Regions from separate parts of the Homo sapiens genome. Here region 2 is linked to region 1. The links are contacts of gene promoters, found by promoter capture Hi-C in blood cells and fetal thymus (Javierre and others, 2016). All regions are on one chromosome and are shown on one strand. Each heading gives the region's core, a stretch centred on a gene start or on the middle of the fragment in contact. The rest is flanking DNA. Distances are from core to core; before and after follow the strand shown.

What was found. The method cuts DNA at HindIII sites, captures the fragments that hold promoters and counts their contacts. A CHiCAGO score of 5 or more calls a contact.
Region 2: a fragment that was not itself captured here is called in contact with the fragment with the promoter of PAPOLA in region 1 in 1 of 17 cell types (erythroblasts); the score reaches 6.1 in erythroblasts.

Annotation. Positions count from the first base shown.
Region 1 is chr14:96,499,554-96,505,919 of GRCh38, forward strand. It overlaps PAPOLA (poly(A) polymerase alpha), which reads left to right and starts at 2,829. Exons shown (of 22, transcript NM_032632.5): 1 at 2,829-3,047. The coding sequence starts at 3,040. It overlaps PAPOLA-DT (PAPOLA divergent transcript), which reads right to left and starts at 2,773. Exons shown (of 1, transcript NR_122121.1): 1 at 2,095-2,773. RefSeq lists enhancers at 1,534-2,130, 2,131-2,725, 2,643-2,902, 2,726-3,321, 4,477-4,978 and 1 more and silencers at 2,241-2,584, 3,023-3,142. The HindIII fragment of the contact is 10,690 bases long and covers 1-5,549 here.
Region 2 is chr14:95,492,883-95,499,248 of GRCh38, forward strand. The region is part of intron 1 of SYNE3 (spectrin repeat containing nuclear envelope family member 3); the gene reads right to left. Among named protein-coding and RNA genes, the nearest start is that of SYNE3-AS1, 20 kb to the right of the region's middle. RefSeq lists enhancers at 2,354-2,855, 2,744-2,843. The HindIII fragment of the contact is 970 bases long and covers 2,312-3,281 here.

The DNA of each region.
Region 1 (6,366 bases), core at 1,579-4,078:
CAACATGTTTGCCAGGCTGATCTCCAACTCCTGACCTCAAGTGATCTTCCAACCTCAGCCTCCCAAAGTGTTGGGATTACAGGCGTGAGCCACTGCGCCCGGCCTCATTTTATTTTTAAAAATTGTTCTCTTTACCTGAGATGCCCTTCTACTCCTTCTGTCCACTTACCAAACCCTAACATATCAGGACGTGTCTGAAGTGACCTCTTACATGAAGTCTACCTTGACTCCATCCTCAATCCTCAATATTGTTCCTTTTAAATGCCTTAGGCAAGTAGCGTGATATCTAGCACATTCTAGGTACTAAATATTCATCAGCTGTGCTATCTAGCTGCCTCATTCTATGGAAGGCTGAAACAAAAATAGTTTGAAGCAATTATAGACCAAAAGCATGGATGTTTAGCGTCCCTCTCTTCACTGCCTTCTGAGATGCCTGGCAGAGGACAACATAAGCTGAAAAAGTCCCCATTCTTTTATTCATAAAGTACATCGTTAGTGCATTTTTTTTTTTTTTTTTTGAACAATGTCTTGCTCTGTTGCCAAGCTAGAGTGCAATGGCATGATCAGGGCTCACTGCAGTCTCAACTTCCTTGCCTCAGGTGATCCTCCCAACCTCAGCCTCCCAAGTAGCTGGGACTACAGGTGTGTGCCACCAAGGCCAGCTAATTTTTTTGATTTTTTTTTTTAGTAGAGACAACGACTTGCCACGTTGCCCAGGGTGGCCTAGAACTCCCGAGCTCAAGGAATCCTCTGCCTCCCAAAGTGCTGGGATTACAGGTGTGAGTGAGCCACTGTGCCAGGCCCCAGGGCATATCTTTACAAGCTGCTTTGAAGTCCATAGCCTTAATACATTATTGAATTATCTGGATCTCAGATTTTCAGTCTTTTAGGGACAACTATGCTACTGGGTCTCCAGCCAAAGCCACCTTGATGACAAGAGGAAAAGAGACTAAATGGAAGAAATGACAATCAAATATAAGTCTGTTTGCAGATCAGCACTATTTAATGGAAATGAAGGCCACATATATAACTTAAAATTTTCTAGTGGTCACATTTAAAAAAACAGGTAAAATTAATTTTAATAGTATATTTTCTTTTTTTTTTTTTTGAGACAGGATCTCGTTCTGTCAACGCAGGCTGGAGTGCAGTAGTGAGATGACGACTCACGGCAGCCTCCACCTCCCACTCCAGGGATCCTCCTACCTCAGTCTCCGGAGTAACTGGGACCACAGGCAGGAACTACCATGCCCAGCTAATTTTTTTTTCTTTTTTCTTTTTTTTTTTTTTTTTTTAACTTTTTGTATAGACGGGGGTTTCCCTATATTGCCCAGGCTGGTCTCTAACTCCTGCCCAAGCGATCCTCCCACCTCAGCCTCCTAAAGTGCTGGATCACAGGTGTGAGACACCGTGCCCGGCTTACATTTTCTTTACTGCAATATATCCAAAATATTTCAACGTGCAATCAATATAAAAAGTGATCAGTGAGGTATTTCACATTCGTCGAACTGACACCCGTGCGTATTTTGCACTTCCAGTGCCTCCTAAACGAACTAGCCTCATTTCAAGTGCTCAGTGGCCCTAAGTGGCCAAGGGGCTACACTAATGGACAGGGCAGGTCTAGGTCCTGTGTTTTTCCCATTCGGAGTCACCAGTCCTACTAGACATTCTGTGAAAAAAGGGAAAGCCTTTGTGAAACTTCCTGAGGACTCACAAATGCACATTATTACATTTAGAGTTTAGAACTTTGGTTAAGGCAGCGTCCTGTATTTGATTCTTTCCCTCTTCCTCTCCGCTAACCCCCTATGTGACACCGTAGAACTTATAATTCGTTCTAATTCGCAGATGGAGGGCATATGAGAGAGGAGGCTCTGCCTCAAACACTTTCTCAAACTTTTGCCGAGGGGTGGCGAGAAGGTAGACTTCCAGGTCCCACCCGATATAGATTAAGGGCTGGAAACACAGTCAAGGGGAAATTATGACCAAGACAACCTTTGCTAAAATGCCAGCGGTGACTGCCATTGATGTTCCTATAAAAGGTCAGCTCTGTCAGGAAGTTCCAGTGCATCATTTGTTCAAAAGTAAAATCAGCCCGTGTTCCAGAATTCGCGGACTGTCGTCAGTCCTAACCTACACATTTATTCGTTCAACAAATATTTCAGCGCCTGGGTCAGGCATCAGGAATACACTGGTGGTTAAAACAGACGGAAAGCTCCATCTGGTGGGACGCAGTCTGGGAGGGAAAGGGAGTCCTGGGGACATGTTTTCGTCGGCTCTAGGCTAAGCACCTCTCGCCGTAGCACACGGGGTCGGCACCGCTGCCCGGCGAAGTACTTGTTACTTTGCAGTCCAGTACGAAGCGGCGGAGTAACCGGTTCCAACCCAAGGCAGCGACTCATGCGAGTCGTTCTAAGCGCCGCGCTGGGGGGTACATACGGTGCACGCGTGGGTGCCTCACCCCCTGGCAGCGCCTCCAGGGACGCTGCTCCGGGAAAGAGCAGCCGCCGCGACCTCAGGCGGCGGGAAAGGTGGGACCTCACAATGCGCCGGAAGCGGTGCCTCGTGGCTTGGGATCTCTCCGGGTTCTTCCTTGCGCCGTCCACGCCGCACTGCCCACGAGGGCGTCCCCGCCCGAGGGACAACTCACCGCCCGGGGCCTCCCTGAGCGTTCCCTTCCACCATCTGACACCCACTGCTAAGTGTGAGAGGACCCAGGGGGTAATTGCCGGGCCGCAGGCGGCCTTAGGAACTCCGCTTCCCGTGAGGCTTCGCGGCGGACGGCGCTGGTGCGCAGGCGCACGCACGGCGTGCGTGGTGGCGTCAGCAGTTCTAGAACGTTGCTGTGGTAGCGCTCGGGCGCCATGTTAGGACGAAGGGGAAGGAGGAGAAGCGCTTAAAGCGGCGGGAGCGGTGCGGGAGAGGGGTTGGACCCAGGGCTGAGGCAGGCCCCCCCCTCCCTCCCGCCTCAGTGGATCATGCCCAGGGCGGCAGCGGCGGCGGTTGCGGGGGGGAAGTGACTGGGCGGTGCCGGCGCCGGAGACGATGCCGTTGTAAGTAATTTGTATTCTGTTTTCTTTCGCTCGCCGGCTGGGCCTTGGGGGGCGTCCGGGAAGGGGAAGAGGTAGGCGGAGAGGGTGGCACGCGAGCCCGACCCTCCCCGCTGGTAGGAGGCAGGCAGGACTGGGGACCTTCCTGTTTCCTCGCTCGCTCGCCGCCGCACTTCCCCCCGTGTGCTGGGTTCCCGCGTCCCCCGACCCTTCCTGGCTGGGTCAGCTGCCGTCGGGCCGGGGGCCTTCCCCTTCCGGAATTGCTGGCGGAACCTCTAACTCGCCCGGCCACTCCAGCTTCTCCGCCCCGTCCACAAAGAAAATCAAAACAACCCGAAAACAAAACATTGCCTGGTGGTGGGGAACCACGACCCTGCTGCACGCGGGATCAGCACTTGGGGTTCGGGCTCGCTCTCGGCGCCCCTCGGGCCCATTCGATGTTGCTTTTCTGTTCCTGGTCTGTCTCAGTTTGCTCACTCTCTTCCTCCCATTTCCAGATGCCTGTCTTGTGCGCCGGAGTTAGCCCCTTTCCACTGACCTTGTCTGAATGTAGGAGCACGAGTTAAAAGCCCAGCTTTGAGCGTTGAGTCCGCCTGCCTCCACCTCCGCCTCCCTAGCATTCACAGGCGGTCGGAGAAGGGGGCACTTCACAGGGTGCCCTCCTCCAAAACGACTTATGTATTGCTTTCCCTGTTTTGTTTTGATGGGGTAACCAGGTTTCATTCTGTTTCCTTCTTTCTCTATCTCTGGTGATACTTTTTTTTTCCTGGTTGTAAGGCTTGAAGCTAGTCTCTTTATGCTTTCTAATGCCACTGCGCCTTTTTCTTTTCTTGGTGGGTTTTTAAAAAGTTTTTTTCTCCCCTCCCCCTTTCTGATAATGAGATATAATTTGGCAGCTCATTGCCAGTAGATTACGGATTTTTTTTTTCCTGCAAATATACAGCATTGTAGAGGCCTAAATAGTGAGACTGCATTTCTTCCATTTTTGAATATTGAAGCGTAAGAGTGCCTCTTTGAGACCAGGGACCGAGTTTTCTTCATCTTAGTAGCCTCAAAACGCAACATGTAATTGACACTCAAAGTTTTGGTTAAATTCAGGATAAAGATTTTTGTGGTTTCTAGACATCGAATGTAGTAACTCAGGTCTATTTTTTTTTTGTAAGTAAGGATAATTTCTTTAGCACATAATCACCGATTGTAGTTTTACAATTATATATGTGTGTGAATGTGTTTCTTTACAGGTGAGACTCTAACTTTGGCACAGACCTTAATGACTTCTATCGCAATTTATGTATTTTAAAAGGATTTTCCATGGCTCCCACCCACCCCCTTAGGTTATTAAGAAGTCTATCACATTACTTCTGTGATGAAAACGTTTGTTAGACTTAACTAACTATACAGGTCTAAAATCTTGGAATCTGCATGGTTTCTGTTTATTGATTTTTCCCTTTCATAGAATAAGAGACCCTAGGAGAACTGAGTCTAAGCAAGATTGTTGTGGTGTTTCTCAGTTCAATAGGAGATAAATGTTTGCAGTGATGTCGTGATGACTGCGTTATTAAGTTAACATTTTGCTGTCTTTGAAAAGGGACTTCTTTTTCTGATAATCATACCAGCATTAAAAATGATAGATGTAAACCTTAAAAGGCTTCAATGAAGAAATAACATTAAGTAATTTGTGTCTTATTTCTAGGAATTAAAAGTACTTTTATACCTACTTTCCCCCAACATTCTTTGAAGAGGGAAGGTATACATTTCTGTGAAAGACCTTAGGTATTTCAAATTCTTCGCGAGTTAGTTCAAGTGTGTAAAATGGAAGACGGGGCCAGGCGCGGTGGTTCACGCCTGTAATCCCAGCACTTTGGGAGGCCCAGGCAGGTAAATCGCTTGAGGCCAGGAGTTTGAGATCAGCCTGGGCAACATGGCGAAACTTCATCTCAACAAAAAACACAAGTTAGCTGGGCGTGGTGGCTCATGCCTGTAATCCCAGCTACTTGGGAGGTTGAGGTGGGAGGACTGCTTGAGCCCAGGAGGCTGAGGCTGCAGTGAGCCTTGATCATGCCACTGCGTTCCAGCCTGGGTGACAGAGCGAGACTCAAAAAGTAAGTATACGATAATTACTGTAGTAAACAATAGAGAGACCAAAGAATGCCTAGTTAAAGAAAAATAGGGCTTCTTCCTCATTAAGTTGCTTTGTTTTTCATGTACTGCTGTCACACTGTCATAAATGTTGTTTTTTTGATGTGTTGGATTGTGATTTCCCGGCTATATTGTGTTTGGCTTTCATTTTTGGTATACCTGTCCTAATGTTAAATTTGGATGGGTGAGTGGCATTGGGGCATGGACCCTAGGTGAGTTGTCGGAATGAATTTAAATCAAAATTATCGAAATTTAGGATATTACAGAACATTTTGATCAAGTGTCCATATTTTGTCTAAATTTCATATGTAGCTACAAACATACTTTTGGAAAGATTATAGTCTGATTTAAGAGTCATGGTGGTGAAGCTTCTGAAAGTTTTGATAGTCTTTGGATCCATTAAACAGTTTCTCACCTAGTCATTATTGACATTTATGCCAGATTCATTCCTTGCAGGTGCCTGTCCTGTGTATTGTAGTTTAACAGCAGCCTTAGCTTCCACCTACTGGATTCCGGGAGCTCCACCCCTCCATTTCCCCAGTAATGACAATCAAAAATGTCTCCAGATATTACCAGATGTGCCCTGGGGTGCAAAATCTGGTTGAGAACCACGGCATTAACGAAAAGTGTGATGCCCTTATGGAAACTAGATGTATTTCTGCCCTACTCTGTGTTGGTCAGATATTTTTGGCATCAGCTCAGTTCTGAGTATCACACATATGATAAAAAGGTGTGAAGGAGAGTAACCAGTATCAGTAGCATTTATGCCACATGCATAGAATGTTGTCAAAGTTACCAAAAAGAGTTACTGCAAGGTTTAGGCGAGACAATAGCAAAAATGTTTTCGGGGGCTGCACAAAAAAGAGGGAATTGTAGTAGTTTTACATCGCCATAACAAGCAGAACTGGTACCTGCTGGTGGATGGTCTGTGCTTCCCAGAGCGGGATCTGTGGATGCTTGGGGAGGGGGACCACTGAGATCTTTCAGAGGGTACATAATGTTCAAACTATTTTCATGTTATTGAGATGTTTTGTCTTTCAACATTTGTACTTAACGGTGCAAAAGCAGTGGTGGAAAATGCTGTATCCATCATAGGAACAATCAAGGCAGAGAACCGGTATTGTATATAGTCATTTCCTTCCTTCCTTCCTTGCTTGATTCCTTCCTTCCTTGCTTCCTTCCG
Region 2 (6,366 bases), core at 1,547-4,046, 1.0 Mb before region 1:
AAATGGGTGAATTGTATATTATATGAATTATATCTCAATAAAGCTGTTTTTTAAAACATCAGCATCCCAAAACTAGGAGGGCCATTAAAACTGACCTAATCTAATCAACCATCTCTGCTTGAATTTCCTTAAAAATACACCCACCAAAGGCTGCCAAGATTCTTGAACACCTTCAGTGATGGGTGGCTCACTGCCTTCTTCAGGCAGCCTATTCTGTTGTTACATAGCTCAGGCTCAAAGGAAGTTTTTCCTTCCAGGAAGCTAAAACCTGTACCTTATAAATGGGGTGCCAATGTAAAGGAAGCTAAGAAGCTGCTTGAGACCTTTTTTTCCAAATGGAGAACAGTACGTTCCATTTACTGAGCAGGTATTAGGTGCTAGTCAATATGCCCCTCCCTCTCCAAGCATTTATTAATGCACTTGCTTTTTAAGACAACTTTAATGGTTGGTATAATCATCCCCGTATCAGAGATAAGGAAACTGAGGCTCAGAGAGGTGAGATAACTTGAGTATAAAATTTCAGAACTGGTTTTGCCCAGGAGGCAGAGCTGGAATTTGAACCTAGGTGTATTGAACTCCGGAGCTGCAGCTGTCCCAGCTGCTGAGCCAGACTGCTTCTGAGAGCCTGACACCATTTCAGCATCCCTATGGGTCTTATAGACCTTATATAAATGACATGAAATTTTTGAATCAAACAACAGAACAAACAGAAAAAAACTCTGCCTCCCAAAAGAGATGCTGAATGCAGCCCCATGGGATGGGCAAAATGCCTGCCTGGGAGAAGAGGGGTGGCCACCAGTGGCTGCATCGCTGTGGGAAGCCAGCCGCCACGGACAGCCTTAGAGGAAAATAAAGCTGAGTGATGCCCTCAGGGGCATACAAATAGCCTTGAGCGCCAGGGTTCTCAACCCAACAGCCCATCATTTGGTGTTTGGAATTCCGGTGAGGAATAAACTCCCCCTGTGAAAGCTACTCAATCCAATTCAATAGCATTTGTTGAGATAATTTTTTTTTAATTTTATACTTGAAAGGTAGGTCTTAATATTCATTCCTGTTTTATAGATGAGAATACTGAAGCTGAGCAGTTTCATGGCCTGCCCAAGATTCCAGAGATAGTAGCTGGGAGGCGAGAATTCAAATCTAACACCATTTAGCCAGGTGTGGTGGTGCCTGCCTGCAATCCCAGCTACTCAGGAGGCTGAGGTAGAAGGAGTTTGAAGCCAGCCTGGGCAACAAAGTGAGACCCCTGACTCTTAAAAAAAAGAAAAAAAAAAGACCATTTGACTTCCACATCCAGATGTGCCTGGCGCGGTGCCACTAGGGCCTATAGGTTTCAAGCTCGGGTTCTCCAGATCACAAGCTCTAAATGAGAGTGCTATGGGTGTTAAATGCAGAGGCACAGAGCCTAGAGAAAGGAGCAATGATTCTTATGAAGATTCCAGGAGAGGCTCATAGAGGAAGGGATACCCTGGCTGGGATGTGAAGGATGAGCAGGGTCTGAATAAGATGAGAAGTGGGAAAGGGCATAACGAGTGGATGGACTGGCGAGACCAAAAGCTGGGAGATGGGGAAGTGCAAGGCCAAGTTCAGGCTGCAGGATGGGTTTGGCAATTGTTAACAAAGAGAGACGGGAGGAGGCCATACTGGAGAGCAGGCTGAGGGGACTGAACAGCACAGGATTCCAAAGGGTTGTGTGGGTTTTACTCTGTGGGCAATAGGGAGCCAGTGAGGGTTTGTGAGCAAGAGAGTGGCACAGCCTACTCAGTGACAGGACCCACAAGCAGTCAGGGCAGCATCTGCTCAATGGTGTGAAAACCACACTGGACCAAGCAGGGCCCTTGCAACAGGGCACCTTAAGTCACATGCTAGGAAATGCCTTGTAAGGTGCCGTTTAACCCTAAGGCATCCTATTTATTGTAAACCTGCTCTTCAAAAAAAAGGCCATGGGTGCTGGGCGCCGTGGCTCATGCCTGTAATCCCAGCACTTTGGGAGGCTGAGGTGTGTGGATCGCCTGAGGTCAGGCGTTCGAGCCAGCCTGGCCAGCATGGTGAAACCCCGTCTCTACTAAAAATACAAAAATCAGTTGGGCGTGGTGGCAGGCACCTGTAATCCCAGCTATTCAGGAAGCTGAGGCAGGAGAATCGCTTGAACCTGGGAGGCGGAGGTTGCAGTGAGCCGAGATCATGCCATTGCACTCCAGCCTGGGCAACAGAGCGAGACTCAGTCTCAAAAAAAAAAAGAAAGAAAAGAAAAGAAAGAAAAAAAAGGCCATGGGTTCAGATAGAAGGGTCTTTTCTCAAGAACTGATTAAGCTTGCCAATGTCTAATGAACTGTGAGAGCAGCCTCCATTCCTTCCAAGAGTGTCTGTGCCCAGTCTGTCCTTACAGTCCTTTTCCCAGCAAAATGCCCAGCCGGGCCCACCTTGGACAATGCTGTTTGACAGTTAAGGAGTCTCCTGCCTGCTGCTACCCTGTCTCCTGCTCTGGGTTCATCTGCGACCCTATGATTGTCCTGGTAGGTGTCAAGGTTATCACTGGGTCTTGATCTTAGGGTGCCAAAGGAGACTCCTGTTGGTTGGGTAAAATGTTATCAAATGCTACTCACAATGGCAATAGTTCCCATGGGTGAGGCCTGCTGTGTGCCAGGCACTGGGCAGACACCATGAAGGCCCCCATCAACCTTCAAATCAGGGGTCATCGTGCTGCCTGACAGATGGGGAAACTGAAGCTGGCTCTCCTGCCCACGTCAGACAGTGACTGAGGCACCAAGTCAGAAGCAAGGCCAGGCCTGCATGGCTCCAGCACCTGTGCCAGGCTGTAAAATGTCGGCAGAATGAGGAAGTGAATCAGGAAGGCAAGGGAGGAGGGTTCCTTTTTGACTCAGAACAGGATTTCCCATCTCACACCCAACTGACTGAGAGACAGACGGGGTGGAGGGTGAGCCCCAGTGGCTCATGCTGGACTGTCCCCCGTGAACAGTCCTAAGCCTGGGACAAGCCCGAGGGGCCAGTGAGGCTTGGGGTTATGGCAGCTGGGCCTGCGAAGCCTTCCCCAGTGGGCCTCTCAAGAGTATGGCTTGAAATGAATCAGGCAGAGCACCTTGACAGGGCAGCGGCTCCAAAACCCAGGTCTCTCCCACCTCTCATTCCACTCAGAGGGGCCGGGAGAAGATGAAGGCCATGCCCTAAAAGGACCCTAAGTGGATGGGCAGAGAGTCAGGTTGTGGTCGTCTTGTCTTCTGATCAAGAACTATACCAGACCCAATTTCTCTCCTTTCCAAAGCTTGGGAGATGCTTAATTCACTTAATGACAAATCCTTCAAAGCCTATGCCAGACACTGTGGTCAGTGTTGAAGATCACAGAGATGAACCAAACAGATAAGAGCATCCTGCCCTGACAAAGCTCAATGTCTCTTTCTTCTTCTGCAAAGTGAGTGTTGCATTTGGAGGATTCTCAACACTGTGGACTCCCTCCCCTGATCCCTCCACTCCAGTCTCTCTAACATGGCATTTCTTAACATGGGACCTTCTGGAATCCACCCATTTATGAATGTCCTGTGGGAAGCCCTAGCTAAATTCACATTCCAAAATGTGTCTGTGAGCTGGGGATTTTAACCAGCCTCCTCTGACATCATTCCTGGGATCGGGGGTGGGACCTGGATGGGCCACGAGGGCTCCATGAAATCTTAGGAAGCTTGTTCTCCTGGTGAGAACGTCTGGAATTCCCTCCTCCTCCCCTAAGACCCCCTATCTCACAGAAGATAAGAATATGTTTGCCACAAGCAATCCACAGTGTCCATCATTACATTCTCATTGTAAACAGCTCAGAATATTCTATGGAGTGAAGGTCACAAACTTTCTTGAACCACTTCCTTTTTCTTGGACAGTTATATTGCATTTATGTTTTCTCCAGGCAACTCAAATATTTGCAAAGTTATCATTTATGTAGCAAGTGAGCAAGCTGTGGAGTCTTCCAGCCATGAAGCAGCACTCCTGCCGGGCTCAACTATCCACTCTCGTACTCTTACACCCAAATGGTATTTTTCTGATCCGGAGCCATTGTTTTCTTAGGGCTCTGCACTTGCTCTTTAGCATCAGCTGCTGGCCCTCTTTTCAGGGCCATTTTAAACAAAGAAATAAAATTTGTGGTCACTTGGCCCGAGCTGGAAGATTAGGGCCAATTCAAATCTGGATGGTGTGAGGCTCCAGGGCTGGGCTGAGGGGGCCTGGCAGGGCTCACTCCTGGTGAGTCACTGCCCCAGCCCCTGTCCCCCCACACAGGGATTCACAAAGGCCTGCTTTTCCTGGGACACTTCCTAACAGCTGCTAAGGATTCAAACCTGACTTTGCTGCCAAATAAGCTATGTGGTCTTAGCCCAGTATATTTAACTCCTCTGACTTTGCCTTCTCATCTGTAATATGGGGATGGTATTAGCATAAACTTCTCACTGCAGATCTGAAGACTAGGTGAGTTCATATTGGTAAAGTGCTTAGAACAATGCTGGCACACAGTAGGTGCTATATAACAAATAAATAATAAATTTGCAAATGTGACAGTTTTCCCGAGGGGAGAAAAAAAAAGATGCAATATAACAGTCCAGCAAGGAAAGTTTGTGACATCCACCCACTCTACAGCATAATCTGGCCATTTACAACGAGAAATTAACACCCTAGAATAATGCACGGTCTGCAGAGAAAAAGAGCAGACTGCAAAGCGCTGCACTCTAGAGCGAGGGTTGGCAGACTGTTTCTGGAGACGGTCAGAGAGCAAGGCTTTTAGGCTTTACAAGCCATATGGTCTCCGTCACATCTCCTCAAATCTGTCATGGTAGCATGAAAATAGCCACAGATAGCATGTAAATAAATGAGCATGACTGCGTTCCAACAAAACTTTATTTACAAAAACAGGTGGCATTTGACCAGCAGGCCACAGTTTGTCAACCCCTCCTGTGCAAATCATTCAAAAACTGTCAAAAAAAGATGAAGAATGAAGCCGGATGCAGTGCCACGTGCCTGTAATCCCCACAATTAGAGAGCCTTAGTCAGAAAGACCTCTTGAGCCCAGAATCCAAGGCTGCAGTGAGCTGTGACAGGAGCGCCACTGCACTCCCCTCCAGCCTGGGTGACAGGACAAGATCCCAACTCTTAAAAAAAAAAAAAAGGAAAAAAGTAGCATCATAGAGCAGTGAAATCATGTGTACATTTCTAAGATTTCAATTTCCTTAAAGTGGTATTAACAATTTTTTTTAAAAAAATTAGAGGCTTTTAAAGTTACATTTTAATCACAATTAAAAGATTTTTGTTTGTTTGTTTGTTTTGTTTTTTTGAGATGGAGTCTTGCTCTGTCACCCAGGCTGGAGTGTAGTGGCATAATCTTGGCTCACTACAACCTCCACCTACCGGGTTCAAGCGATTCTCCTGCCTCAGCCTCCCAAGTAGCTGGGATTCCATTCATTTCACCAGAAATCTGGGATTATAGGCATGCACCACCATAGCCAGCTAATTTTTGCATTTTTAATAAAGACAGGGTTTCACCATGTTGGCCAGGCTGGTCTCGAACTCCTGACCTCAGGTGATCCGCCTGCCTCAGCCGCCCAAAGTGATGGGATTACAGGCGTGAGCCACCGCTCTGGGCCTACAAATTCAAAGATTTCATAGTTCCACTAGACTTTCAGAAAAAGTTAAGAGTATTAAGTCCAGCATTCAAGTTACATGAGACAGAAAAGGTACAGACTTTGAAGTATGTATAGAATAGGACTGCATCTGTCTTCTCCATCTACTAGCTGTGTGACTCAGGCAAGTGTATTCACCTGTCTGTTCCCCAGATTCCTCATTTGTAAAATGAGGATGACAATGGCACCCATAAGCATGCAAAGAGCCTGGCACTGAGTGAGCCTGGTGCACCATAGGCCCTCAACACAAATAAGCCACCTCTCAGTCCCCCCCAGGCTGGATCCGGCTGGCCCTGGGTCTATGGCAGCAGGACAAGGCGGACTAGAAAGCCTGGCATGCTTTACTTTCCAGCTAAAAAAAATACCCTCCACAGTTTTCAGCTTTGGTTTACAAAAACAACACAGAACCATTCGAATCTCACTTTTAATTTAATAACTGGCACCCCAGCCTGAGAAACGGCAGGGTTCATTTCAAATGGGAGTTCTTGGCGGGAGTGAATCTCAGAGCTGTACTCACTGAACCCTTAAGGAGATCCATGGCCCTGCAGTGCCTGGGCCCTTGACTGGCAGAGCCAAATCCTTTCCTGGATCCAGAGGCTTAGGCACGAGGATGTTTCCATTCATTTCCCGGGAAACCTGCCAGTTTTGCAGGAGGCAGGGGGACCAGAGTCCTCTCTTGGCAGAAAGGAGCATC